Linked DNA regions of Homo sapiens: regions 2, 3, 4, 5, 6 and 7 are each linked to region 1. The links are contacts of gene promoters, found by promoter capture Hi-C in blood cells and fetal thymus (Javierre and others, 2016). All regions are on one chromosome and are shown on one strand. Each heading gives the region's core, a stretch centred on a gene start or on the middle of the fragment in contact. The rest is flanking DNA. Distances are from core to core; before and after follow the strand shown.

Region 1 (3,863 bases), core at 73-2,572:
TTTCACTGTGTTAGCCAGGATGGTCTCGATCTCCTGACCTCATGATCCGCCCGCCTCTGCCTCCCAAAGTGCTGGGATTACAGGCTGCTTCCTTTAACCTAGAGCAGTTCACTAGCCTTTTTCCTAATCTTTCATGAAACTGACATTTTTGAAGACTGGGCAGTTGTCTTGCAGGTCTCTCAGTTTGGATTTGCCTGATTGTTTCGTCCTGAAGAGAGGCAAATTACACACTTTTACAAGAATATTATCTCTGTGTCCCTCTCTGTGCCTCACACCAGGGGCATATGTCAGTCCCTACCATCCCCCGTTTGATCAGTCTCTTTGATGTGAAGGTACCCTTTTCTCTTTAGTGAGTAATCTATGGGGGTGATACTTTGAAACCATATGAACATCCTCAACGGTCCACTGATCATTTCAGCCTGAATCAATTATTATCATGGTGGTTCCAAGACGATGATTTTCTATTTCTGTCATCTATTCTACCTTTATTAGTTGGTCTTCTCCTCTACAGAAGAGCTTTTTCTCCTCCACATCCTCTGCCCCTTTGAATTATCATCTCTCACTACTTGTGGGATCTTGAATCAATCACTTACTCCCTGGGGACCTGTGTATTCTCATCCTTAAGACGAGATGACCTAAGAGTGACACTCTTGAAGTCTGGTCAGTCTGAAATGAAATTCCCATAAGAGGCTGGGCGTGGGCTCAGGCCTGTGATCCCAGCACTCTGGTAGGCGCAGGCGGGCGGATCACTTATGCCGTGGAGTTCGAGACCAGCCTGGAAACATAGGGAGATTCCCGTCTTTACCAAAAAAAAAAAAAAAAAAAAATTAAATTAGCCGGGCGTGGTGGCGCGCTTCTGTGGACCCTCCTACTCAGGAGGCTTAGGCAGGAGGACGGCTTGAGCCCAGGAGGTCGAGGCTCCAGTGAGCCAAGATCGCGCCACTACACTCCGGCCTGCGGCATGCCTCAAACCTGGGGTCCGGCACCCTGCGGCCTTTTCGCGGCCGCACCCATGGCAACAGTTAACTAGCAACCTCGCGCATTCTCGCGAGAATGAGTCCCCTCAAGGGCACAGGTGCGGTCCCCAGCCTCTTGGGCCCCCAGTCAACCTCACTGTCCACACCGAGCCCTCCTGCGCACGCGCGCTGCGGAGCCGGACAGTTGGTGGTGCTGGCTTGGCCCGGCTGTTCGTCTCCGCGCCTTGCTCCGAAGCGCGCGACCGTGGCGCGACACGCCGGCGCACAGGCGCTCTCGGGGAGGGGCGGCGCGCAGGCGCGGCTGGGGGTGCGAGGCTGCGCAGGCGCGGACGGCGTTGGTTTGAAGACCTTCAGCGTTGCCCTGGCGGAGCAGAGACAGGCCCTCGGGGTGGAGGTGAGGAGAGCTGAGGCCGCGCGGGCTCCAGTCCCGGAGAGCGGTGGGCCGCGGCCGAGCAGAGCGCCAGGCGGGAGGCGGGCCTAACGGAGGCTCTGTGGGCAGGGAGCAGGCTACCGGGGCGCGGGGGGCCGGGGCCGCTCGCTCCCGCCGGGACCCGCCCGGGCCACCTCAGGCGATGGAGCCGCAGCACGGCGGGGCAAGTGGCCTCCGGGCGCGGGCAGCGACCTATCCCGCCGGCGTGTGGACCGCACTTTCCTCCCAGGGGTCAGCTAGAAAGGAGATCGGTTCTAGGGAAGTTGGATCCTCGAACCCCACACCCATCTCCCGCCCGCCCCTGCCCCCTCCTTACGGCCGAGGGAGGGTGCCCTGCGTGCAATTCAAAACGGAGAAGCGAGGAACGAAAAGGGCTCTGTACTGGCTGTCAAGTTAGTGGCTTTGTAAAGCAGTAGCAACCGGCTTAACGCCTTTCCCCGTCTGCGTCTCCTGCAGCCTCTGTGCAGTGTGCACATCTATGGGCAGGTGCATTCTGTAGAGCTGGTGGAGACGTGTGGTTGTAGCTTTACTCTCGAGGAACATGAAGTTTCTGTTGTTCTCGATTTTTGCTTGATCATACTAGCAGTGCATTTCCCATCAGAGTCATAGGCCTGAAAAAGTCAGCTTGAACTAGGCAGAATTGAGGTCAGTTAGTATACTAAACCAGCTACGTGACTTTTGCATAGTATCTCGTACTGGTTTTGAAAAATAACAAAACAAAATGCTGAAATATTGTAAATAGTCCCTAGACGTATATATAGTGCTTCTAAACATTTAAGTGTATCTTTTCTCGGCAGTATGAAAAACCAGACTGTAAAGCTTTAACATTTCTATTTCAATATATACTGCCTGCATTTCTATACTTACTTCCCAAATTACAGACTTCTGGCAAAATTTCAACAAATATCAACATCAGTTGTAATCATAAAGAGTAATATCAAATTGCAATTGGGATAATATAAAAAGCCTAGAATTGATCACTTTAGTACAAGGGATTGAATTGTAAAATAATCGTTCTGTAAGTGAATTATGAAACCTGGTAGCTTAGAGCAAAGTTTTACTATGGAATGAGTCAGTACATTTATACTACCGTTTCCTCTTTAATTTTTTTTTCTTTTTAGTTTTTTATACTAGTCTCTTTATATCATAGTGTCTGTCATATTTGACAGGTTTATGTTAAGGAACAAAACTTAAATGCATTCCCATTTAAGTGCATCATATGTATATGTTTGGTATGATGGGGTAGGCAGAAGCTTAGCAGAAGTCTGGATTAAGAGCTGGGCTATATATAAATAAATATGAGCTTAAATGTGTAGATCATTCAGGCGTAGCAATTGCAAGGGCTAGCTGGTACTCTGGATTTTTCTGACATATGGGCTAATGGCACTGCTAGAGGTGGCTCTGTAATTGGTTAGACATAGCTTTTGAGTCTGCGAGAGGAATACAGAAGAACCTGCTGCAGAAAGATTTCCCATGATACAAAGAGGGCAAAGGAATGAGATAATCAGCAGTGTTGATAGCTCTGAGAATTTGATATGAGGGTCATATTACCAGTAGCAAAGCTGGGCAGATTTTTAGTAGGCAAGATGAAAAATCAAGGCACCTGAGGTTTTTGAAGGCTTTAACTTCAGAGTTTACACTAACTTTTGGTAAGCAGGTTGCTGCAGGTAGAATCTGTCATATTTCTGGTTAATGGGTAAAATTATAGCACTTTAAGAAGAGCTTTGAGAGAAGATATATTCTAGATGAATACACTTCAATTCGTATGGTAAATTCTTATTTTAAGAACTGAATTTCAGAGGAGAAAAATGTTAACCCTGAGGATTTTGATTGCATCTTTTAACAGTTTCTTTAAAAATTTCCATTGTTGTCTTATACAGGTCTTTGGTTTCATAAGAGCCTGAGAGAGATTTTTCTAAGGTAAATTTTGCATATATTTTTAAAAGAAGTCCAGTTTAACATAGCATCTTTTTCATCCTGTAAGAACTTACTTTTCTTTGAAATGCAATCAGAAAGATGACCTCTGAATCTCACGGGAAAACTGTTTTATTCTCAGTATTCTGGAAAGGTCTGTTTTTTAAGGAGCAGACTGCTGTCTCATACCTTTGATTGCATTAAAGCATTAATGATACACAGGAAGAGAAAACTGTATACCCCTTCTCACAGGATTAAACAGCAGAAGAACTGTGGGTGAATAAATACTAAATGGTTATTTTTATTCCTTTGCCCTGTTTTTCTTTATAAGATATGTGTAACACACCAACGTACTGTGACCTAGGAAAGGCTGCTAAGGATGTCTTCAACAAAGGATATGGTAAGTATGCTATTGTAACTTTCCAGTTTGGGGTAAAGGTTAGTGTTGAATGCCTACTGTGTGTAAATACTGTGTTAGTAAAATAAGGGTAAGTCAGCATTATTCCACTTCACAAGATTTAAGGGGATAACTATTAACAGGC
Region 2 (3,863 bases), core at 418-2,917, 470 kb before region 1:
TTAAATCTCTTAATCTTCACCCTCCATGCCCTCCTCTCCTATTATTCCTTGTAATTGATCTGTCATTTATCCTGTGAAGTTTCTCATGGTCTAGATGTGGTTGCTTCCATCCCTGTGGTGGTGTTTACCATGTGCCTCTGTCCCTTGTGTTTTCTGTAAACTGATAAATTGAAGCACATTTAGAACCAGCATGGTTTTCTGACAAGGGTATTTTCATAGGTGGTATGAAAAGGCACACAATATCCCAGGTGTTTCTTTTTGAGATGCTAGTGGCATTTGATAATCTTTGCCTAGATCCATTATTTCATACGGGTTGCAAATAATTCAGCTCAAAATATTTTCTAATTTCTTTTTTTTTTTTTTTTTTTTGAGATGGAGTCTTGCTCTGTCGCCAGGCTGGAGTGCAGTGGCGCGATCTCGGCTCACTGCAACCTCCGCCTCCCAGGTTCAAGCACTTATCCTGCCTCACCCTCCCAAGCAGCTGGGACTACAGATGTGTGCCACCACGCCCAGCTAATTTTTAGTAGAGAGGGGATTTCACCATGTTGGCCAGGATGGTCCTGATCTCTTGAACTCGTGTTCTGCCCGCCTCAGCCTACCAAAGTGCTGGGATTACAGGTGTCAGCCACTGCGCCCAGGCATGTTTTTTAATTTCTAGTCTTCTTTGGCTCATTAATTATCTAAAAGCATTTCTTAATTTCTAAATATCTGGGAATTTTCCAGTTTTTTTTTTTTTTTTTTTTTTTTGAGATGGAGTTTCGCTCTTGTTGCCCAGGCTAGAGTGCAATGGCACAATCTGAGCTCACTGAAACCTTTGCCTCCCAGGTTCAAGTGATTCTCCTGCCTCAGCCTCCCAAGTAGCTGGGATTACAGGCATGTGCCACCATGCCCGGCTAATTTTGTATTTTTAGTAGAGATGGGGTTTCACCATGTTGGCCAGGCTGGTCTTGAACTCCTGACCTCAGGTGATCCATCCGCCTCGGCCTCCCAAAGTGCTAGGATTACATGTGTGAGCCACTGCGCCTGGCCTTTTTAAATAGATTTCTAGCACATTCACATTATAGTCAGAAGACTTACTCTGTGTGATTTCAATCTTTTCATATTTGTTGAAATATGTTTTATTGCTGTATGTATGGTCAATTTTTAAAGATATTGCATATTTTGTTATGTTTTATATTTGTCCATTAGGACAATTTTACTACACCTGTTCAATTCTTTTATATCATGATTGATTTGTCTGCTATTCTGTCATACACCTAGAAGAGTCAGCAAAATCTCCCACTATGTACTTTCCAATATACCAGCAATAAACAAGTAGAATTCAAAATTAAAAACATATCACTATTTACATTAGCATCCCCCCAACTGAAATACTTAGTTCTTAATCTAACAAAATATGTACAAGATCCATATGAGGAAAACTTCAAAACGCTGATGAAAAAAAGAAGAAATAAATAAATTGAGAGATATTCATTTCATAGAAGGAAAGACTCAATATTGTCAAGATGTCAGTTCTTCCCAACTTGATCTATAGACTCAATGCAATCCCAATTAAAATCCCAGCAAGGTATTTTGTGGATTATTGAAAAACTGATCCTAAAGTGTACAGGCAAAAGACCCAAATAACCAACCCAATATTGAAAGAGAAAAACAAAATTGGAGGATTGACACCATCTGACTTCAAGACTTGCTATAAAGCAACAATATAAGGACAGTGTGTGGCCAGGCATGGTGGCTCACGCCTGTAATCCCAGCAGTTTGGGAGGCCGAGGTGGGCAGATCACTTGAGGTCAGGAGTTTGAGACCAGCCTGGCCAACATGGTGAAATCCCATCTCTACTAAAAATACAAAAATTAGCCAAGTGCAGTGGTGGGAACCTGTAATCCCAGCTACCCAGGAGGCTGAGGCAGGAGAATCACTTGAGCCCAGGAGGCGAAAGTTGCAGTGAGCTGAGATCGCACCACTGCACTCCAGCCTGGGCAACAGAGTGAGACACCATCTCAAAAAAAGACAGTGTGATATTGGTGAAAGGATAGTAAAATAGATCAATGAAACAGAATAAAGAGACCAGAAATAGACCTACATACATATAGTCAACTGATCTTTGACAAAGGGGCAAAGGCAGTACCATGAAGTAAGGATAGTATTTTCAACAAATGGTGCTGGAACAACTGGACATCCGCATGCAAAAAAAAAAGAATCTAGACACAGACCTGATACTGTTCACAAAAATTAACTTGAAATGGATCACAGACCTAAATGCAAAACTATGGAATTACTAGAACAGGAGAAAACATAGATGACCTTGGGTATAGCAATGACTTTTTAGATACAACATTGAAGGCACAATTCATGAAAGAAATAATTGATAAGCTGGACTTCATTAAAGTTCAAAACTTTTGTCTGCAAAAGACAATTCTCACAAGAGAATGAGAAGACAAGCCACAGACTGGGAGAACATATTTGCAAATAACACATCTGATAAAGGAATCCAAAATACATAAAGAACTCTTAAAAGTCAATGATGGGCCAGGCACGGTGGCTCACGCCTGTAATCCCAGCACTTTGGGAGGCTGAGGCAAATGGATCACAAGGTCAAGAGTTCAAGACCAGCCTAGCCAACATAGGGAAACCCCGTCTCTACTAAAAATACAAAAATTAGCCAGGCATGGTGGCACACACCTGTAGTCCCAGCTACTTGGGAGGCTGAGGCAGGAGAATCACTTGAATCCAGGAAGTGGAGGTTGTGGTGAGCCGAGATTGTGCCACTGCACTCCAGCCTGGCAATAGAGCGAGATTCCGTCTCAAAAAAAAGAGTAAATGATGTGGCTGGGTGCGGTGGCTCACGCCTCTAATCCTAGCACTTTGGGAGGCCGAAGTGGGCAGATCATTTGAGGTGAGGAGTTCAAGACCAGCCTGGCCAACATGGTGAAACCCCACCTCTACTAAAAATATAAAAAATTAGCTGGGCATGGTAACCTGTACCTGTAATCCCAACTATTTGGGAAGCTGAGGCAGGAGAATTGCTTGAACGGGGAGGCAGAGGTTGTGGTGAGTCGAGATCATGCCACCGCACTCCAGCCCGGCGACAGAGCAAGACTCTGTCTCAAAAAATAACTAAAATAAAATAAAATAAAAATAAAAATAAATAAAAAATGTCAATGATGAGAAAATGAACAACCCAATATAAAAATGGGCAAAAGACCCGAACAGACATTTTGCCAAGGAAGATATACAGGTGGCAAATAAGCATGTGAAAAGATGCTCCACATCATATGTCATCAAGGAAATGCCAATTAAAACAACAATGAAACATGACTACACACCTATTAGAATGACCAAAATCCAGTGATGTCTCAGTGAAAAAAAAAAAATTACCAAAATCCAAAACATTGACAACACCAAATATTGGTAACGATGTGGAGCAACAGGAACTCTCATTCATTGCTGGTGGAAATGCAAAATAGTACAGTCACTTTAGAAGACAGTTTGGTAATTTCTTACAAAAGTAAATATTCTCTTACCATATAATCCAGCAATTGCCCTTCTTGGTATTCATATAAATGAATTCAAAACTTGTCTCCACACAAAAACTTGCAAACAGACATTTATCAGCTCTGTTCACAATAGCCAGCATTGGCAGGGACCAGATGTCCTTTTGTAGATGAATGGATAAACTGGTACATCCAGACCATGGAATATTATTTAGCACTAACAAGACATGAGCTGTCAGGCTATGAAAAGACATGGAAGAAACTTAAATGCATATTATTACTAAGTGAAAGAAGCCAATCTGAAAGGTCACATGCTGTATGATTCCAATTATATGACATTCTGAAAAAGACAAATCTATGAAAACAGTA
Region 3 (3,863 bases), core at 665-3,164, 430 kb before region 1:
TAGCCCTAGTAGGATTTGGAGCAGCACTCCATAATCAGACACACTAAAATTTCTTTAGCAAAGCATATGAATATTCACATTAACTGGCATAAGTAAGGAATACAAATAGTCTCACATCAGCTCAGATCATGTTTTTGTCAGTAACTCAGTTCAGGTCAAGTGGGACTTTATTGCAAAATGAGTTAGAAAAGGCCGGGCGTGGTGGCTCACGCCTGTAATCCCAGCACTCTGGGAGGCTGAGGTGGGCGGATCACGAGGTCAGGAGATCGAGACCATCCTGGCTAACAAGGTGAAACCCCATCTCTACTAAAAATACAAAAAATTAGCTGAGGAGCTTGGTGGCGGGCACCTGTAGTCCCAGCTACTCAGAGGCTGAGGCAGGAGAATGGGGTGAACCCAGGAGGCAGAGCTTGCAATGAGCCCAGATCGCGCCACTGCACTCCAGCCTGGGTGACAGAGCCAGACTGTCTCGAAAAAAAAAAAAAAAAAAAAAGTTGGAAAAGTTTCTTTCCATTCTCCAAAGAAGATATACAGATGGCCAATAAGCTCATGAAAAGATGCTCAACATCACTAATAATTAGGAAAATGTAAATCAAACCACAATCAGATACTACTTCACACCCATTAGGATGGTTATTATTTTTAAATGCAAAACACCAGAAAATAACAGATGTTGGTGAAGATGTGGAAAAATCAGAACCCTTGTCCCATTGCTGGCGGGAATACAAAATGGCACAGCTGCTGTGGAAAACAGTATGATGGTTCCTCAAAAAAGTAAACAGAATTACCACATAATCTAGCAATTCCACTGCTGATTATAGACCCCACAGAACTGAAAGCAGTTCTTTGTATATGGGTATCTATTTGCATACTCATGTTCATAGCAGCACTATTTACAACCCAAGTATCCACTGACAGATGAATGGATAAACCAAATGTGGTACATACGTACAATGGAATATTCTCCAGCCTTAAAAAGGAAGGCAATGGTTGGGCGCTGGTGGCTCACGCCTGTAATCCCAGCACTCTGGGAGGCCAAGGTGGGCAGATCATGAGGTCAAGAGATTGAGACCATCCTGGCCAACGTGGTGAAACCCCGTCTCTACTAAAAATACAATAATTAGCTGGGTGTATGGCACATGCCTGTAGTCCCAGCTACTCGGGAGGCTGAGGCAGAAGAAACACTTGAACCCGGGAGGCAGAGGTTGCAGTGAGCCAAGATCGCGCAACTGCACTCCAGCCTGGGCAACAGTGCAAGACTCTGTCTTTAAAGAAAAAAAAAAAAAATACAAGGAAGGCAATTCTGACACAGGCTAAAATACATATGAACCTTGGGGACATTATGCTAAGTGAAACAGCCAGACACAAAAGGACAAATATTGTATAATTCTACTTATGGTACCTAGAGTAGACAAATTAATAAAGGCAGAAGACAGAATGATGCTTACCAGGGGTGGGGGTAGGGGTGGGGGGTTGGGAGTTGTTTAATGGGTACAGAGTTCCAGTTTTGCAAGATAAAAAAGTTCTGGAAATAGATGATGGTGATGATTGCACAACAAGGTGAATGTCTTTAATGCCACTGAATTGTACACTTAAAAATGGTCTGGTTAGGCCGGGCGCAGTGGCTCATGCCTGTAATCCCAGCACTTTGGGAGGCCAAGGCCGGCGGATCACGATCGAGACCATCCTGGCTAGCAAGGTGAAACCCCGTCTCTACTAAAAATACAAAGAATGGCGAGAACCCGGGAGGCGGAGCTTGCAGTGAGCCAAGATGACGCCGCTGTACTCCAGCCTGGGTGACAGAGTAAGACTCCGTCTCAAAAAAAAAAAAAAAAAAAAGTCTGGTTAAAATAACTTTTACATTATGTATATTTTACCACAATTATTTTTTTTCAAATTTTCAGGACTCCTTAAATTTCAGGATTCTGGATATTGTGACCTATCTTTCCCTTTTCCTAAGCCTTTTTGCTCTACACTCAGACTTCTCTTTATCCATCTCCTTTGCTAATTCTTTTACCATTAAATATTGACAAAATCTAGAATTCTGTCCTCGGCCATCTTACCTTTTCCATCCGGAGGACCCATAATCCAGTGCTTCCATCAGCTTTCCACTCTCCCCACACCCTCCTTTCTCTCTACGCAGCTTAGATTCTAAGGTCTTTTTCCCTGTAATTCCACCCTTTGCATAGACCTTTAACTCTCTAGTTTCTCTTCTAATTTCACAACAAAATCCTAACCCCTGTTAAATTCAACTCTTCACATAATCGAAGTTATTACCTTAATGTGAATATGGGTGGAGAAAAACAGAGAATCATGCTACCCAGTCTCACATTATACACCTACCCACAAACCTCAAGCAGGTCCTGATGCTTCCTACTCCATTCACTCTCCCGTTCTGAAAGACAACTGCACCCTTTCTCCTCTGCTCAAGCCTCCAACACTGCTTACTCCACCTTCACTTTCAGCCAATGCTTTTGCTTCCTACTGCACTAAACTGGACAAAATCAAAAGAAAACTTCTGCAATTTTTCCCACCCACATCTGTCTGCCTCCACCTTTGTGCCACACATCCTGCCTTTCACCAATACTATGGCTAAAGATTGAGCTCCTAAGCCCACGGCTTCCGTTTGTGCATGAGATAACATCTTCCTGCTCCCTAGCCAAAGAACATCACCCAGCAGTTCCCCTCCTATCTTCTGCATCATCAGCTTTCCCTCTACCAGAGCATTCCATCAGCATACAAACAGCTGTTATTCATTCCATATTTTAAAAAGGGGGAGAGGGGTGTGTGGGCATGGTGGCTCACCCCTGTAATCCTAACACTTTGGGAGGCCAAGGTGGGCGGGTCACAAGGTCAAGAGATCGAGACCATCCTGGCCAACATGGTGAAACCCTGTCCCTACTAAAAATAGAAAAATTAGTTGGGAGTGGTGGCGCACACCTGTAGTACCAGCTACTCGGGAGGCTGAGGCAGGAGAATCCCTTGAACCCGGGACGTGGCGGTTGCAATGAGCCGAGATGGTGCCACTGCACTCCAGCCTGGTGACAGAGCGAGACTCCATCTCAAAAAAAAAAAAAAAAAAAAAAGTATCTTCTTTAGCCCTCACAGCTCTATCCAACTCTCCCTTTCTCTGCTCCTAATTACTGTAAAAAACCTCAAAACAATGGCCACATATTACTACTATAACCAATTTCTCCTTCCATTCTTTCTTGAAACCACTCCAATTATCTCTTCACCCTCCCCTGTCCCCATCATGGAAACAGTTTCTCAAGATTACTTCCTTGTTGCTAAGCTGGACAGTCAATTTTCAGTTCTCTTCTTACTTGGCCTATTTGCAGAATTTAAAAACTGATCCTTCCTTCTTACAACACATTCTTCACTTAGCTTCTAAGGAACTACACCTTCATGTTTTTTTTCCTACTTCACTGGCCATTCCTTCTCAGTTTCTCCAATCTCTAAAAGTTGGAATAACCTAGACTCAAAGTTCTTCTCTTCTCCCTTGGTGATCTCATCTAGTCTCATTTTTCAAAAAAACAACCTACTTGCTGGTGAGTCCTGAATTGAAAATTTCAGCCCAGACCTGTTCTTTGAACTCCAGAGACACATATCCCACTATCTACTTGATATCCCCTCTCACATCAGGTTTAACACATCCAAAATCAAACTCCTAAATCTTTTCCCCAAATGTGCTCTTCCTATTTCCCCATCTCAGTAGATGGCAACTCCGTCTTCCAACTGTGTTCTGGCATCGTCTCGGACTCCCTGCTTTCACAATGCATCAACATATCCCAATGGGTCTACCTTCAAAACATACTCAGAATTCCAATTCCACCACTACCACCATGATCCAAACACCATGTCTC
Region 4 (3,863 bases), core at 1,304-3,803, 410 kb before region 1:
TATCATCTACATGTTTTTTCAATGTGTTCTTATATTCTATAACCAATTGTTAATAATCAAATATAAATCCATTATAGATAATTAGTGTTATCCCGAATAATACATGTACAGAATACTATTTGTTTCTAAGTCTGTTCTAAACTCTTACCTGTGGGCCAATCTGAAGTGCTTGATTTCCTGTTGCCCCTCTTTCTGATTCGATATTGCTCAGAGTAGTCCACCACTTCCCCCCGAGCTTTCCGCCCATCAGGGGAAGGGGTAAAAAATTTGGTAAGGCCATCAATGAGCCCTTTGGTTTTCTTGTTGAACTTCAAGGAGACATTGCTATCTCTGCAGAAGTCCAAGCCATCTATCCGCTCTAAATATCCTTCTTCTGATGATGATGATGCTGATTGGCTGGAAAGAGTGATTTTTCGTTTCCTACCCCTTCCAGGGCCAGTTCGAACTTTGCTGAAGGGACCTTTTGATCTAAACAATTAAACAGGGGAAAGGGTAAGTATTAAAAAAGATACTTGTAAGGTTCCTTTTTAATACATAACATATAATTAGTAAGTAACCTACAGCTTTATTAAAATCTATATTATTAAGAATATTCTGCAAACTATAAATAGTACTCTGTGAATGAAAATTAATATTATTATTAGAAACATCTATTGCCAGGAAGCCTACTTATAGTGCAAAGAATGACAGGCCAGGAGTCAGAAGACTTGTTCTAGTCATAATTCTCTCTTACTAGCTGTACGACTTGGACAAATCACATTTTTTCTAAACATATGTCAGTGCCTTCATCTGTAAAATGAGAACTGGACTAAGAACAACTAAGATCCTTCCAGGTATAAAGTTCTACTACACTGTGATCTCTGCACCAACTGAAAGTTATACTTTTATCTCTAAAACACAAGGATGGGTTATTCTTCGAAGGCCAGGAATCAAAAGATCATTTTATAGGAAAATCAAAGCTTGATTTAAGATTTTGAATATAGACTACAATATTGGTTCTGTACATTTCAGGCTGCTAATGCCCATTCATTTCAGTTATATCACCTTCAAGATAGTCTTACGTGTAAAAAAAGTAAGTAAAACTTTTGATAATAAAGGGAGGTTGACAAGCCTGAAGACGTTTACATATCATCAAAGGTGAGTTACTACAGACATTTTTAAAAAGACAAAACTAGCTACTGAATCTTGCCCCACCTCCTCCAGACATAGCCCAGCTTTCTAGTCCACAATTTCTGATTTCTGCTAATAGATGAAAACATTCAAATTATTTTACATCCAAAGAACACAAAAATGGGACTTAGCCATCACCTCAATAGGAAGAACCTATCCAGTGATTTGTACACCTAATAGATATTAACAACTGAGACAAGATCAGGAGAGTGACATGTGAAATGTCACAGTAACAACTTTTTCTTTCCTGTTTTTATATAAGAGAAGCAACATAAAGCAATGGTTAAGAGTCAGACTTTGGTGCCAGACTACTCGGATTTTCATCCCAGTTCAACATTTACTATGCCTTAGTTTCTTCCTTTGAAAAATGAAAGTAACAGCAGCAGCTATATTTCACTGGGTTGTTGGCAGAATTAAACAATTCAATGCATATAAAGCACTTAGAATAGTGTCTGGCACTTATTAAGGGCTGAATAAGTGTTAGCCATTATTATTATATAAAAGTGCCAGATATGACAATGGAATTTTTTTCATAGAGAAAACAAGTGAATCCTACACTATAGAGAAGACCCTATCCTTTTCTCCCCTCACCTTGCCACAAGTACAACTTACACCGTGTTTTGTTTCTTTAACCTGTTTTTTGGACGTCCTATTGGATTAGTATAGCGCCGTTTTATCTGTGCTGCCTTCTTTTGTAGAAGTTTTCGTCCTTTTTTCCTAGGTCGACATATTTGACATATCCACATGCCTATAAAAAAATAAAATTCCACATAGAAGTGTGACAGACATAAATACACTGAAAGGTTTCAGATAGTCTTAAGTCAGGATCTTAACTTTTTCAGGTAAAAGACTGTCATTAGAAAATCTGATGAATACCCCCTCCAATCCAAAATAAACATTAAAACATATACACACAAAATTCTACAAATAATTGGAAGAGACTCACATACACCTTCAAGCCTGCACTGGAAGTCCACTGACTGCACTTGAAGTCCACTGAGGCTGAGGCGGGTGGATCACCTGAGGTCAGGAGTTTAAGACCAGCCTGGCCAACATGGTGAAACCCTGTCTCTACTAAAAATACAAAAATTAGCTGGGCATGGTGGTACGTGCCTGTAGTCCCAGCTACTCGGGAGGCTAAGGCAGGAGAATCGTTTGAACCCAGGAGGCGGAGGTTGCAGTGAGCCGAGATTGCACCACTGCATTCCAGCCTGGGCGACAGAGTGAGACTCCGTCTCAAAAAAAAAGTTTCCTGCCTAAAGCTGCTATATAATCTCTTTTGTAGAAGTTAAACACACAAGAAAGGAGTCCTAAGGAAATGTTTCTTGACTGGGCACAGTGGCTCATGCCTGTAATCCCATCACTTTGGGGGGCTGAGGTGGGCGGATTACCTGAGGTCAGGAGTTTGAGACAAGCCTGGCCAACATGGTGAAACTGCATCTCTACAAAAAACATTAGCTGCAAGCCAGGCATGGTGGCTCACGCCTGTAATCCCAACACTTTGGGAGGCCAAGGTGGGCTCCAGCCTGGGCAACAGAGTGAGATTCCAACTCCAAAAAAAAAACCTTTCTTAGGACTCTTAGAAGGCCCCTTGCTCAGACTTCACATAAATGGAAAAAGTGGGTATTTATTCTTTAGTATTTATAAATTGAAGACGTTTCAAAAAGTAACAATCAGTAAGTGAATTCAGGCTGGGCGCGGTGGCTCATGCCTGTAATCCCAGCACTTTGGGAGGCCGAGGCGAACAGATCACTTGAGGCCAGGAGTTCAAGACGAGCCTGGCCAACATGGCAAAACCCCATCTCTACTAAAAATACAAAAATTAGCCAGGTGTCGTGGTACGCCTGTAGTCCCAGCTACATGGGAGGCTGAGGCAGAGAATCGCTTTGAACCTGATAGGTGGAGGCTGCAGTGAGCCAAGATCCTGGGCGACAGAGTGAGACTCCATGGGTGAGGGGGTGGAATAAGTGAATTCAAGTAAAAACCTAAAGTGTTAACATGACTACAAAGTACGGTTAAGTCATTTTCTATCAACAGGAAATTTTTTTCCAAACAAATATTATGAAATATCCTATAGGCATTTTACTTAAGAAGCCTATAAATTATAAAATCAGAGTTAAAATGGAATTTGTGATAGGACAAAAAGAGGGGTCTGGCTGAAGTTTTTTTTAAAGAACCTATAAGCATATGAATATGGAAGTCCAACCATGAGGCAACTATGCCCAAACTAAATACCTCTCAATGAACAGGAATCAAAAGAAAAGAGTAACATTAAGCTGCGCCCTTACAATCTGGACACTTATTTGTTCAGAATGTATTTCATTAAAACAACAACAACAACAACAAAAAACCTTTTTATTTCATAAAGTATTTCATAAAAAGGTTTTTTTTTTAAGTTTTGAATAAACCATATCTCTATAGCTCTAGGGCCCTCAAAAGTGCTAAGCAGTGATATAATCAACACGACCTAATACTATTTTATTTCCTCCTTTCAATAAAGAGATATTTCAAGATATATTTAAGGCAAGTATTTTATCTTCTAGCTAGAGACTGGCAAATATGTATAAATGAACCACTTCACCATTGATGGATGCCTAGATATTGAAAATAACAATAAATCCGTATCATGTAAGAATGTTAAGATGCCCACTCAGAAAGACTATCCCCCCACCTTTTAAGGTGACAGTTCTCTT
Region 5 (3,863 bases), core at 740-3,239, 410 kb after region 1:
CCTGTAATCCCAGAACTTTGGGAGGCTGAGGTGGGAGAATTGCTTGAGCCCAGGAATTCAAGACAAGCCTGGGCAACAAGGCCCCCATCTTTAATAAAAATCATCTAGCAAGACCCCATCTCTACTAAAAATAAAAAACTTAGGCCGGGCACTGTGGCTCACGCCTGTAATCCCAGCACTTTGGGAGGCCGAGGTGGGTGGATCACCTGAGGTCAGGAGTTCGAGAACAGCTTGGCCAACATAGCAAAACCCCATCTCTACTAAAAATACACAAAAATTACCTGGACGTGGTGGTGGGTGCCTGTAATCCCAGTTACTCGGGGGGCTGATGCAGGAGAATCGCTTGAACCTGGAAGGCAGAGGTTGCAGTCAGCTGAGATTGCACCATTGCACTCCAGCCTGGGCAACAAGAGCGAAACTCCGTCTCAAAATAAAATAAAAATAAAAATAAAAAACTTAGCCACGTGTGGTGATGCACACCTGTAGTCCCAGCTATTCAGAAGGCTGTGGTGGGAGGATCGCTTGAGTCCAGGAGGTCGAGGCTATAGTGAGCTACGATTACACCACTGTACTCCAGCCTAGGTAACAGAGCACAACCTTGTTTTTTAAAAAAAAAAAAAAAGTCTTATTGACATTTAAGTTGGTTGGGGTAGGGGGGGATTTGAGATGGAGTCTTGCTCTGTTGCCCAGGCTGGAGAACAGTGGCGCGATCTCAGCTCACTGCAACCTCTGCCTCCCAGGTTCAAGCAATTCTCTGCCTCAGCCTACTGAGTAGCTGGGATTACAAGCGCCCACCACCACGCCCGGCTAATTTTTGTATTTTTAGTAGAGACAGGGTTTCACCATCTTGGCCAGGCTGGTCTTGAACTTCTGACCTCATGATCCACCCATCTCGGCCTCCCAAAGTGCTGGGATTACAGGCGCGGGCCACCGCACCCAGCCAGTTTTTTTTGGATAGACACAGAAATGGACCCTTCTGGTCTTAAAGCTTGAAGCTTACGTTTGTTTTATCTGAGTTCTTTCCTCAGGAATGGACCTTCAGGCTGCTCAAAAAAAGTATCAGGGAACTGAAACTCACCAGATCACCACATCCTGACAATGAGTTGGACCCTTCATTCATCATGATTGCCTCCTTGGCCCTCCCAAGTTCCTGTTTTCTTACACATTGTTACATTCCCTCCCTGCTATAGAAACCCCTAGTTTTAGTGGGTCAGGGAGATGGATTTGAGGCTGAGTCCCCATCTCCTCGGCCATAGCACTGGATTAACGCCTTCTTCCTTGGCATTACTGGTGGTCCCAGTTCATTGGCTTTCTGTGCAGCTTGCGGCAGGACGGAGACTGAAACCCTGGTGGTTCAGTAACAGAGAGAGTCTAGCATGAATTGAGCTCAACCTCGATTTGTACAGAGGTGACTGGGAGTTTTTAAAGAGAGAATGAGGGAGCAGTGAAGTGAGTGAGCAGGGGCTCAGTAGACTGAGGGAAGTGAAAAGTTATGAAAAGCAGGAATGAGGGCCTAGTGTTACCCAAGTTAGGCTCCTATGCCCCCACCGAGGTTGGGAGTCAGTAATTCTTTTGGCAGCTTGAGTTTCCTCAGGCAGGCATTTTTCCTCTGGGGACATCCTAGAGAAGTGGCTTTAAGCTGCTAGAAACTGGGTCAGTGTTTTGCTCAACTCTTGCTAGGCCAACATTGAGGTCCAGTGGAGAAAGGGCTCAGAGGAGCCTGGCCAGAGTTTGGATAAGGAGAGTCTTTGTCAGGGCAAAACAACAGATAGCCAGGAGTGCAAGGCCTGGGTGAGACAGCCACATATTCCCCTTCCAGAGGCAGGGTCAGCCTGGCTCTGTTCCTGCTCACTGGGCCCCATGGAAAGGCATTGCCAGAATATGTTTTGCTTTTTTTTTTTTTTAAGAGAAACCTAAAATCTTAATTCTATGTGATCTCTCCTGAATTTTTAATTTTGACCAATTAAAAACACACTTCAAATGGCAGTAGCCCCACAAAATACATCCGCCGGCCAGATTCAGACCATGACCCACAATAATTTTCCTTTCTTTTCTTTTCTTTTTTTCCTGAGATGGAGTTTCACTCTGTGGCCCAGGCTGGAATGCAGTGGCGTGATCTCAGCTCACTGCAGCCTCTGCTTTCCAGGTTCAAATGATTCTGATGCCTCAGCCTCCAAGTAGCTAGGATTACAGGTATGCACCACCATGCCTGGCTAATTTTTGTATTTTTAGTAGAGGTGGGGTTTCACCATGTTGGCCAGGATGGTCTTGAGCTCCTGACCTCGAGTGATCGGCCCGCCTCGGTCTCCCAAAGTACTGGGATTCCAGACGTGAGCCACCGCACCCGGCCTGCAATAATTTTCTAATTCGGCCCTAAGCAGAAAATAGAAGATGTCTTCGGTTGCTGTTTTATTTAGGAAAATATGCAGACAGATCATTTTGCTGAGCTAGTCTGTATTGCTTAGTTGCTCTACATAAAGCAAGATATTTATGTGGCATTTGCCACCTCCCTCACCCCCCATAGAAAATAAGAACGTTCTTAGGAGTGAGTGTGAAAGCAGATTTCAGCAATGTGCCTGACGGTCTGCACCCAAGGTCAGCGAGATGGGTAGGAACTCAGGCATGAGATGGCTGCCGTTTTTGCAGTCCCACTCCCCCACTGCACCCCCATGCACATGCTGCAATAACCCTGTTGTCGGAACCTGCGGTGGCAGCCTGTTTCACAGAAGCATTGCTGTAGTGGCACCAGGGGATAAAAACCAGTTGCCCCACTGGAAAGTTTAATAATGTTTCAAAAGATCATAGTGTTACTATTAGGAACAATGAATACCAGAATGCAAATATTCATGAATAAGGAAAGCAATGGTTTTAGCTAATTCATTTTATTTTGGAAAGTGACATGTGATCAGTGACTTTAAAGGAAGCCTTACGTTTATGTGATTGCGGGTTGGGGGGAAGGTTGTTTTGTCAGACACAGCAAATACCAAGCTTCCCCTGCCACCTACTGGCTGTTCCTTGCAATGAAAAAATTCTGAATAAGATGTGGTATATTAGAACCAGAGGTTGTTGTGAAAATAATTTTTAAAAATTAGCCTGGTGGCACACGTCTGTATTTCCAGCTAGTCGGGAGGCTGCAGCAGAGAATCGCTTGAACTCTTGGGAGGCGGAGGCTGCAGTGAGCCGAGATCGCGCCACTGCCTCCTGGGCGACAGAGGAAATTATTTCTAAAGCTGGGTGGTGTGCGCATTGACATTTATGATGTTTTTTGTTTGTTTTGTTTTGTTTTGTTTTGAGACGGAGTCTCGTTCTGTCGCCCAGGAGACTGGAGTGCAGTGGCGCGATCTCGGCTCACTGCAACCTCCGCCTCCCCGGTTCAAGTGATTCTTCCACCTCAGCTTCCCGAGTAGCTGGAACTATAGGCTCATGCCACCATGCCCGGCTAATTTTTGTATTTTTGGTAGAGACGAGGGTTCGCCATGTTAGCCAGGCTGGTCTCGAACTGCTGACCTCAAGTGAACCGCCCACCTCGGCCTCCCAAAGTGCTGGGATTACATGTGTGAGCCACCGCTCCTGGCCAAGAAATAAAATATTATTAATGAAGTTTGAAATCTCCTGCATACTCCTCCCTAATTGCATCTCCCTCCTACTCAAAAGTATCCGGTACTTTGAATTATATGTTTATCATCCCAACACATTTGTTTATAATTGTTGTCCATATGTATGTATCACTAAGCAACACTGGTATTGTTTTGCATAAAATTTGTATAAATGATATAATTGTATGGAATCTTCTGTAGGTTACTTTTAAAACCAACATGTTTATGAGAGTCATCTACATTTAGCAGTATAATCATTTTCACTGC
Region 6 (3,863 bases), core at 737-3,236, 380 kb before region 1:
CCACTATGGAAAACAGCTTAGCAGTTTCTTATAAAAGTTAAACATACCATTACCATACAACCCAGCAACACACCTCCTAGGTATCTGCCCAAGTCAAATGAAAACCTAGAGTAGTAGACTGAAATCCCCCACAGACAGCTCATCCTAATCCTTCGAACCTGTAAAGGATAATTTTATTTGGGAAAAGGGTCTTCACAAGTGTGATTAAATTAAGAATTTTGAGATGGGGGGGTTATCCTGGATTATCTAAGCAGGCCATACATGTTGTGACAAGTGTCCCTAGAGAAGCAGAGGAACAGGTGACACACACACAAAGGAGAAGACATGATGTGAAGAGGCAGAGATGGGAGTGATGCTGCTGCTGACCACAAGCCAAGAAATGCCAAGAGCCACCAGAAGCTCAGAATGCCTGCAGGGGCAATGTGTCCCTGCCAACACTTTGAGTTCAGTCCAGAAATACTAATTTCAGACTTCCGACCCTCAGGATAGTGAGGGAATAAATTTCTGCTGTTTTAAAGCTATCCAGTTTCGCAATTTTTTACAGCAGCCACAGGAAACTACTGTACTATATTCACACAAAAACCTATATATGAATGTTTATAGAAAGCTTATTCATAATTGCCAAAAACTGAAACCAAATGTCCCTCAATAGGGGAAGAGATAAACAAACTATGGTGTACCTACCACACCATGGAGTACTACTCAGCAACAAAAAGGAACAAACTATTGACAACTACATGGATGAATCCCAAATGCATGATGCCAAATGAAATAAGCCAAACTTAAAAAACTATACTTGATTCCATTTATATGACAGTCTGGAAAATGTAATATTATAGGGAGAATAATAGCTCAGTGGTTTGCCAGGGTTGGGGGAGGGTGATGACTACAAAAGTCAAGTTTTTTTTTTTTTTTAGTGGATAATGGATCTTTCCTATATCTTGATTGTGGTGATTGGTTATATAACTCTATCCATTTATCAAAACTCATAAAAGTAGACACAGAAAAGAATGCATTATTGCATGTAAATTTATAGATAAATAAATATAGCAATACAGAGGGAGGTGGCTCTGTCATTTTTCTTTCTTTCTTTTTTTTTTTTTTTAGATGGAGTCTCGCTCTGTTGCCAGGCTGGAGTGCAGTGGCGCGATCTTGGCTCACTGCAACCTCCGCCTCCCGGGTTCAAGCGATTCTCCTGTCTCAGCCGCGCATGCCACCAAACCCAGCTAATTTTTGTATTTTTTAGTAGAGTTGGGGTTTCACCATGTTGGCCAGGATGGTCTCCATCTCTTGACCTCATGATCCACCCGCCTTGGCCTCCCAAAGTGCTGGGATTACAGGCGTAAGCCACCACGCCCGGCCTTGGCTCTGCTTTTTTTCAATTACAAATGCTCATGCACACATATGTATGGTCACTTCTGTATTCATCAGCATTTAAACACAATATATGGGGTTCCTTGCTCCTATCCTAACCAAGATTAATGGTCCTTCTATAATTTTCATTCAAAACTGTCCTTGATATTTACTTATTTATTAACCTATTTTATCTAAACAGAGGGTGGTTTACTTTCTAAAAAGATCACTCCACTGACTGCAGATTTAAAGGGACAAGAACAGAAGCAAGGAGTTCAATTAGGAGGCAAGAACAATGACTTAGTCAAGAGGGAAGTAAAAAGTGCTAGATTCTGGATATACAACAGAGCAGGGTTTGGCAAACTGTTTGTAAAGACCAGACAGTAAATATATTCAGTTCTGAGGTCACAGGGTCTCTGTTAAAACCACTCAAGTCTGCCGCGGTACCGTGAAAGAAGCCTTGGACAACACAGAAACGAAAACAAGTGTGGCTGTGCTCCAATACAACTTTACTTATGGACACTGAAATCTGAATTACATATGATTTGCATGTGTTTGAAATATTATTTTAATATTTTTCAACCATTTAGAATTGTTAAAAAAAAAACATTTTTAGCTCATGAACTATAAAGAGGTGGGGGCCATAATTTGCTAACCCCTGTTCTAAGGGGCAGAGCCAAAAGGATTTGCTACTGTACTAGACGTGATGTGTGAGAAAAGAGATGCCAGATATGCTATTAAAGTTAACTATGCTTTTGCTACAGTTAATTTTCATACCAAACTGTTCCATACACAGTACAAAGCAAAAGAATTTCTGGGCCATACTCTGTAATCAGCTATTATAAGCCATTCACAATCATCTATACCCATACTATATATATCCAAGGCCAAACTCCACAGAAAAATCAATTGAAGATAAAATACCAGTTAAATGAACCACATTTTTGGCTTGAGATCAAGAGGCTATGCTCTCTTTTAAAACACACACGCAGAAATGCCTCAGGCAACCAGTTTCTTAAAACACATAGATAATTAAGTCAACAAATATACCTTCAATCCACTGTATGATCAATAAGGGGCAGCAGGTTACAGCAATAAGACAAGGACAGATCGGGGGGCTAAAGAGAAGCAAGGAAAATAAGAAAACAGAAAAAGATTAAATGGGGCTCGGAGGACAGCATATTAGCACTTTTTTAATAAATAAAGGAAGAAATTCAGAGATATTACTCAACTAGAATAAGTGACCTCATATACAAGGGAGGTAGAAACTGAAGTAGAAGCTGGAGCAGTATGTGATCCAATGAAATACTTCGGTACATGCAGTTATTACATGTAGTTACAGGTTCAGGATTACTTGAAATACTTCGGTACATGCAGTTATTAAATGTAGTTACAGGTTCAGGATTACGCTAGGAAAGGATAGATTATGGGTTCAGTTCTCTAAGGAGCTGAGAAATCACTGTCCATAACTGTTCAACTACTCCTCATCTTTAAGCCTCCAGAAACACTATTTCAAATGGGATAACCAGTGCATGAAGGGAGATAGTAAGGCAGAAGAGAGGAGAACAATATAACAGAGTAGGCTATAATGTCAAAGTCAGAGGTTGTCTGCCAATGTTATCCACAAAAACTTCTCAAAGCTCACAAGTAATATGTCCAATGTGGTCTCATGCCCCTTCTGTGCTAAAAAGAATCCGGACTACCAAGCTGGCAGCCCTATGCTACAGTAAGCAGAGTTGCAATCTATAGCCAGATCCCTTCAACATGGATGAGCTGGGGGGAAAGCAGAACTAGGAAGCCAAGAGGACAGACAGATAAGGAGGTAACTATGCAAACAACTTTCCAGATACCACGACAGCACTTAAAAGCAGATCCTATACAAAGTCTTTCTTGCCTTAAGTTCAGAATACAAATTACTGCCACTCATAAAACAGCATTTGCCTGTGGGCAATACAAAGATGTAAGAGACACTGAACACTTACCTTCAAGGCGCTTACAAATTAGTGATCTAGAAAGCTTTTGCTGCCAAACCACAACCTCCTATACAGTCGTATAAATTTCAATGTATAGATAAATTTCAACTCCTGGCATATGTACTATTCTATCCTTTCAGCAGAGAAACAGGTAATAAAGGGTGAGCTAAATATGTATGTTGAAGGATATTTTTCATTTGAAAATTTAGGTTTTCAAAAAGCATTTTGATTTCATAATTTTGTAGTAACCATCTTTTTGTCCCATGCAATGCTATGAACAACTGAGCTGAACATCAATTTATCTATTCCTACTGCAATAAGCCAAAACAGCCAAAAAATCTGACGTTCACACAGGGATTTAAAAATAGCAAAGTTTGCTCATGCATATAGACACACTCTAGACATAGACTTTTCCAATTGAAACAGACTAGCTCATTTTTCCCCTTGAAGTAACTCCCACAGACATTTTAATGCAAATGCAGATGAGGCAAAGACTCTTAACTCCCATTAAATAACCAAAAGGCAAGGTACCAGGAC
Region 7 (3,863 bases), core at 401-2,900, 350 kb before region 1:
TCAAGAAGTTTAAAAATGAATGGAAACAGACAGGGTATACATAGAAAGAAGGATCTGCAGTGGTTTTTTGGTTGTTTTTACTCTAACGGGAGAGTCTTCTGCCTGCTAAGGACTAAAAAGTGAGCGAGAAAGATGATAGAGTCAAAAAATGGGACTATTTTTGATGGCACACGGCCCCTGAGGTAGCAGAGAATGGGGTCCTGAAAAAGAATGGAGAGATGAGCCTTTCACACTTCTTTCACTGTCCTATGACAAGGTAGCAAAGCGGGCAGAAATAAGCACAGATGTATTTAGGATGGCATGAGAGGGGTATAAACTCAATGAGCTCAATTGGACAGATTCCATTATCTCTATGATGTAGCATATGGGAGTATCTACTGAAAATGAGAAAAAAAGGTGGGAAGAAATACTGAATTTCTGCAGACAGAACAGACTATACACAGACATACATCTTCAAGCAGAGGGCAGAGCTCAGATTGGAGGCCACAAATTTGTAAGTGGCATCCCACCACATGGTCATGAGATTTTCCCCAAAGTTAAAGCAGAGAGGTTGGGCACGATGGCTCATGCCTGTAATCCCAGCACTTTGGGAGGCCAAGGTGGGCAGATCACCTGAGGTCAGGAGTTCAAGACCAGCCTAGCCAACATGATGAAACCCCGTCTCCACTAAAAAAATACAAAAATTAGCCAGGGGTGGTAGCAGGCACCTGTAATCCCAGCTGCTTGGGAGGCTGAGGCAGAAGAATCGCTTGAACCCAGGAGATGGAGGTTGCAGTGAGCAGAGATCGCACCACTGCACTCCAGCCTGGGTGACAGAGCAAGACTCCAACTCAAAAAAAAAAGGAGAAGGTGGTAAATGGCTGGAGTTTGCCAACATGATGCAGGAGTAGTGAGTGAGTGAGAATGTGCCATAAGGCCAAGCAATGAGAACAGCATTAGAGTGATGGCAGGGCACCTGTCGGAATCATGCAGGTAACTTTCTCGCAACTATATACCACACAAGATCTTCTTGAGATAAAGCAGTGAGGGTAAGGAGAAAGAAAGGTGGAAGATTAGAGTAGTTATAGCCAGGGAGGACAATAAAACAGAATGTACATTTCCAGAAGTACACTGTCCTGGGTCCAAAGTGTGTTCATGAGGGTGTGTGTGAAGCATGCTATTTCATCATTTGTTTGAATGTCAATTATGAGGTTAAAAAGTACCTGCTTCTTCTGTCTTCTGACTCTCTTAGCCAGTCCCCACTACAGAGATGTTGGTTCTAAGCATTAGAGCAATGGTTCTCAACCCCAGCTGCACATCAGATAAACATTCTTAAAAAAATAAAAAATAAAAAAAACTGAAACCTGGGCCTCACTACTAGTCAAATTTAATTAGTTTGGTATTTATTTTTTAAGCTTCCTCAGGTAATGCTAAAGTGAATTTAGTGCCAAGTACCACTGCTTTCCAAAGAATAAGGCTTTGGATTTATGTTACAGAATTAAAGAAAAACTGAGTGGCATGGAAAAAAGTAAGGCAGGAAAATGGTGAAAGAGGGTTTAAATAGTAAGTTAGATATTTAAAGATGCCCTGAATAGAAAAATTGGGAAACTATTAAAGTACAGAATCACACTCCACACACAAAAATAGTAATAATGTTTCTGAGAGTTCTGTTAAAGGTTCTAGAAAACTCAGGAGTTAAATGCTTCACTGTACCCAATGACTAAGAAAAAAGGAACCTAGACTTTACTAAGCTCAAAGAATTAAAAACCAACACTTAGCAGCTCTTCAGGTCAACTACAGTTCACAATTCCCTGGAGGAAAACGCAGCCCATAGTACAAGTCTGACAACACCTCTAGATCTGCGGAATCACCTATTCTACATAAAAGGTAAACGGCAAAAGAAGCAACTATCTTCTTTAACACATTGAAAGCTTTTTTTTTTTTTTTGGCTGCCAGATTTTATTTCCACACCAGTTATCTTCTTCTTAACAAGTTACACCTATAATCTTAAAATCGCCCAGTTATTTTACAAACATCTGTCCTCAATCTTAATCTTTATTTGCCACTATCCTAATGTACTTGCTAAGTTTTACAGCAAAGCAGAAGTGATGCAGAGATGAAGTGTTAGTCATAAAGACCAATAAAGACAAAAAATGATGTGCTGTCTGCGGTCTTCCCCACACGGTCTGTTTACAAGTAACATTACAAATCTCTCAAGCTCCTCCCAGACACTATGTTTATAGAAGTGCTAGACTATACACTTTTGGTCCACCCATATTTAATGTCTTTGGTAAAAATTACTTCATTAATTAATAGAAAGGTTTGTACCTTGCTATCTCTAGCTCAGTCTCAAGAATTTTAAATTCTAACCAATGATCCAAGTCACTCAGAGGTCATTTGTGTTGCAGACCTACTGAAAATTAGACTTACCTTTAAATGGACTTTTTTTCCCAAAACTCAAGGAGTACTTTTTCTTCCAGCATTAAGGTAGCTCAACATGTTCCCCTTCTAATATTTAGCCAACAACATAAGAAAACCTTGATTCCTCTAACTTGGGCCATAAGAAAGCAGTCTTTTCCCAAAAAGTTGTTTCAAAACTCTAACAAGAGTGTATAGCTATTTTCACACACTGAAATAGCAGATTTATATATTTGTGGTTTACGATACCACCAATATTCTCTAGACAAGGTTTATTCTATGGTTTCCATTAAGGAAGAGAATTCTAACTAAATTATTTTAGGCTCACTGCTCTCTAATACTATAAAGCAGTACTACAGCATAATGAAAAAAGCACAAAATTGAGAAGGGCCTGACCAATTCTTCCAGATGGTATTAACTGGCTGTGTGGCACTGGACAAGACACTTCAACCTCTTTGGCTCTCAAATTTCCCTATTATTTGTGAAATCAGATTAGAATCACTGTGATCCAAGATTGCTACTGGCTGAACATTCTACACAATGCAGAAGATACAAGTCTTTTTTTCTAATAATCTATGTTTCGTAAGCATAATACAATTCAACCATAAAAGATACCTCAATCAACACTACAGCCAGACTTACTTTTCCTTAGCAGTCTTTTTTTTTCTTTAAATTGCTGACAGTTAAAAACTATTTTGACCCAGAATGGCATACTACTATAATCTCTATGCTTAATTTCAACTCCTAATAAAATAGTGCCACACTACAAATGGTTTCTTCACCTGTTCCCTAATGAAGTTGAAAATAATTCCTTGGCCTTGAATTTACAGATACATGTACAGGGCTGATGAAAGCCATCTGCTGGGAACTATGACTTTCATATGAAAGGAAAAAACCAGAAGGAACTGCTTTCATTTTCCTGGGAACCAGCTGCAGCTGAATGAGTCCTAATCCTGCTCCAGCTGGGACAAGCAGAAGGGTGAAGTTACTCCTGGTCTAATTCATTCGCTGCAGATCCTTTGTGAAATGACTCCACCCCTGAGTAGCCAAGTGGTAAATAACTTTATCAGAGTGAAGCTCTTAATAATTCCTATACATAAATCAGAGCATGAAAAGTATTCATTATTATAATTTTAAGAAACACTCTCCAGGTCACCAGAAAAAAATAAATTTTTAATTCTATTTAAACCAGCAAACTCCGCACCTAGATTTAGTCCTCTTACATAGCTAAGAACCAAGTCAGTATGACAAAGATATTTTCTCCAAAACTTTAAATGCAAAGAGAAAATAAATCTAATAGATGTTAAGGAGATTCTTACAGCTTCAGGAAGACTGAATGATATAAATTTTCTTTCCAGATTCATCACAGTTCCTGTTATGTATTTGCTCTCCTAGTATTAAACATAACAAAAAAGTATTGGCCCACAAGTCCAGGATGAACTAAAGAAAAAACAGGCAGCAAGGGT

What was found. Contacts are between HindIII fragments. The CHiCAGO score rates a contact against its expected background, and 5 or more counts as called.
Region 2: a contact is called between a fragment that was not itself captured here and the fragment with the promoter of VDAC3 in region 1, in 1 of 17 cell types (total CD4 T cells). The highest score is 5.6, in total CD4 T cells.
Region 3: a contact is called between a fragment that was not itself captured here and the fragment with the promoter of VDAC3 in region 1, in 14 of 17 cell types (total CD8 T cells, activated CD4 T cells, non-activated CD4 T cells and 11 more). The highest score is 17.3, in total CD8 T cells.
Region 4: a contact is called between a fragment that was not itself captured here and the fragment with the promoter of VDAC3 in region 1, in 15 of 17 cell types (activated CD4 T cells, naive B cells, total CD4 T cells and 12 more). The highest score is 17.1, in activated CD4 T cells.
Region 5: a contact is called between a fragment that was not itself captured here and the fragment with the promoter of VDAC3 in region 1, in 2 of 17 cell types (megakaryocytes and naive CD8 T cells). The highest score is 8.3, in megakaryocytes.
Region 6: a fragment that was not itself captured here is called in contact with the fragment with the promoter of VDAC3 in region 1 in 6 of 17 cell types (naive CD8 T cells, naive B cells, total CD8 T cells and 3 more); the score reaches 8.6 in naive CD8 T cells.
Region 7: a fragment that was not itself captured here is called in contact with the fragment with the promoter of VDAC3 in region 1 in 10 of 17 cell types (naive B cells, activated CD4 T cells, non-activated CD4 T cells and 7 more); the score reaches 9.6 in naive B cells.

The regions. Positions count from the first base shown.
Region 1 is chr8:42,390,558-42,394,420 of GRCh38, forward strand. VDAC3 (voltage dependent anion channel 3) reads left to right here and starts at 1,323. Exons shown (of 10, transcript NM_005662.7): 1 at 1,323-1,371; 2 at 3,288-3,327; 3 at 3,653-3,721. The coding sequence starts at 3,655. It also overlaps a transcript of DKK4 not described here. RefSeq lists enhancers at 827-1,327, 1,328-1,828 and a silencer at 1,070-1,599. The HindIII fragment of the contact is 9,991 bases long and covers 1-2,224 here.
Region 2 is chr8:41,919,107-41,922,969 of GRCh38, forward strand. No RefSeq gene overlaps it. Among named protein-coding and RNA genes, the nearest start is that of ANK1, 120 kb to the left of the region's middle. The HindIII fragment of the contact is 5,707 bases long and covers 1-3,863 here.
Region 3 is chr8:41,958,688-41,962,550 of GRCh38, forward strand. The region is part of intron 8 of KAT6A (lysine acetyltransferase 6A); the gene reads right to left. Among named protein-coding and RNA genes, the nearest start is that of KAT6A-AS1, 91 kb to the right of the region's middle. The HindIII fragment of the contact is 5,570 bases long and covers 1-3,863 here.
Region 4 is chr8:41,976,860-41,980,722 of GRCh38, forward strand. KAT6A (lysine acetyltransferase 6A) reads right to left here. Exons shown (of 17, transcript NM_006766.5): 6 at 1,783-1,918; 7 at 149-468. Among named protein-coding and RNA genes, the nearest start is that of KAT6A-AS1, 73 kb to the right of the region's middle. The HindIII fragment of the contact is 3,193 bases long and covers 958-3,863 here.
Region 5 is chr8:42,802,436-42,806,298 of GRCh38, forward strand. No RefSeq gene overlaps it. Among named protein-coding and RNA genes, the nearest start is that of CHRNA6, 36 kb to the left of the region's middle. RefSeq lists an enhancer at 1,522-1,681. The HindIII fragment of the contact is 1,993 bases long and covers 994-2,986 here.
Region 6 is chr8:42,012,171-42,016,033 of GRCh38, forward strand. All of the region lies in intron 2 of KAT6A (lysine acetyltransferase 6A), which reads right to left. Among named protein-coding and RNA genes, the nearest start is that of KAT6A-AS1, 38 kb to the right of the region's middle. The HindIII fragment of the contact is 2,762 bases long and covers 606-3,367 here.
Region 7 is chr8:42,035,781-42,039,643 of GRCh38, forward strand. All of the region lies in intron 2 of KAT6A (lysine acetyltransferase 6A), which reads right to left. Among named protein-coding and RNA genes, the nearest start is that of KAT6A-AS1, 14 kb to the right of the region's middle. The HindIII fragment of the contact is 516 bases long and covers 1,393-1,908 here.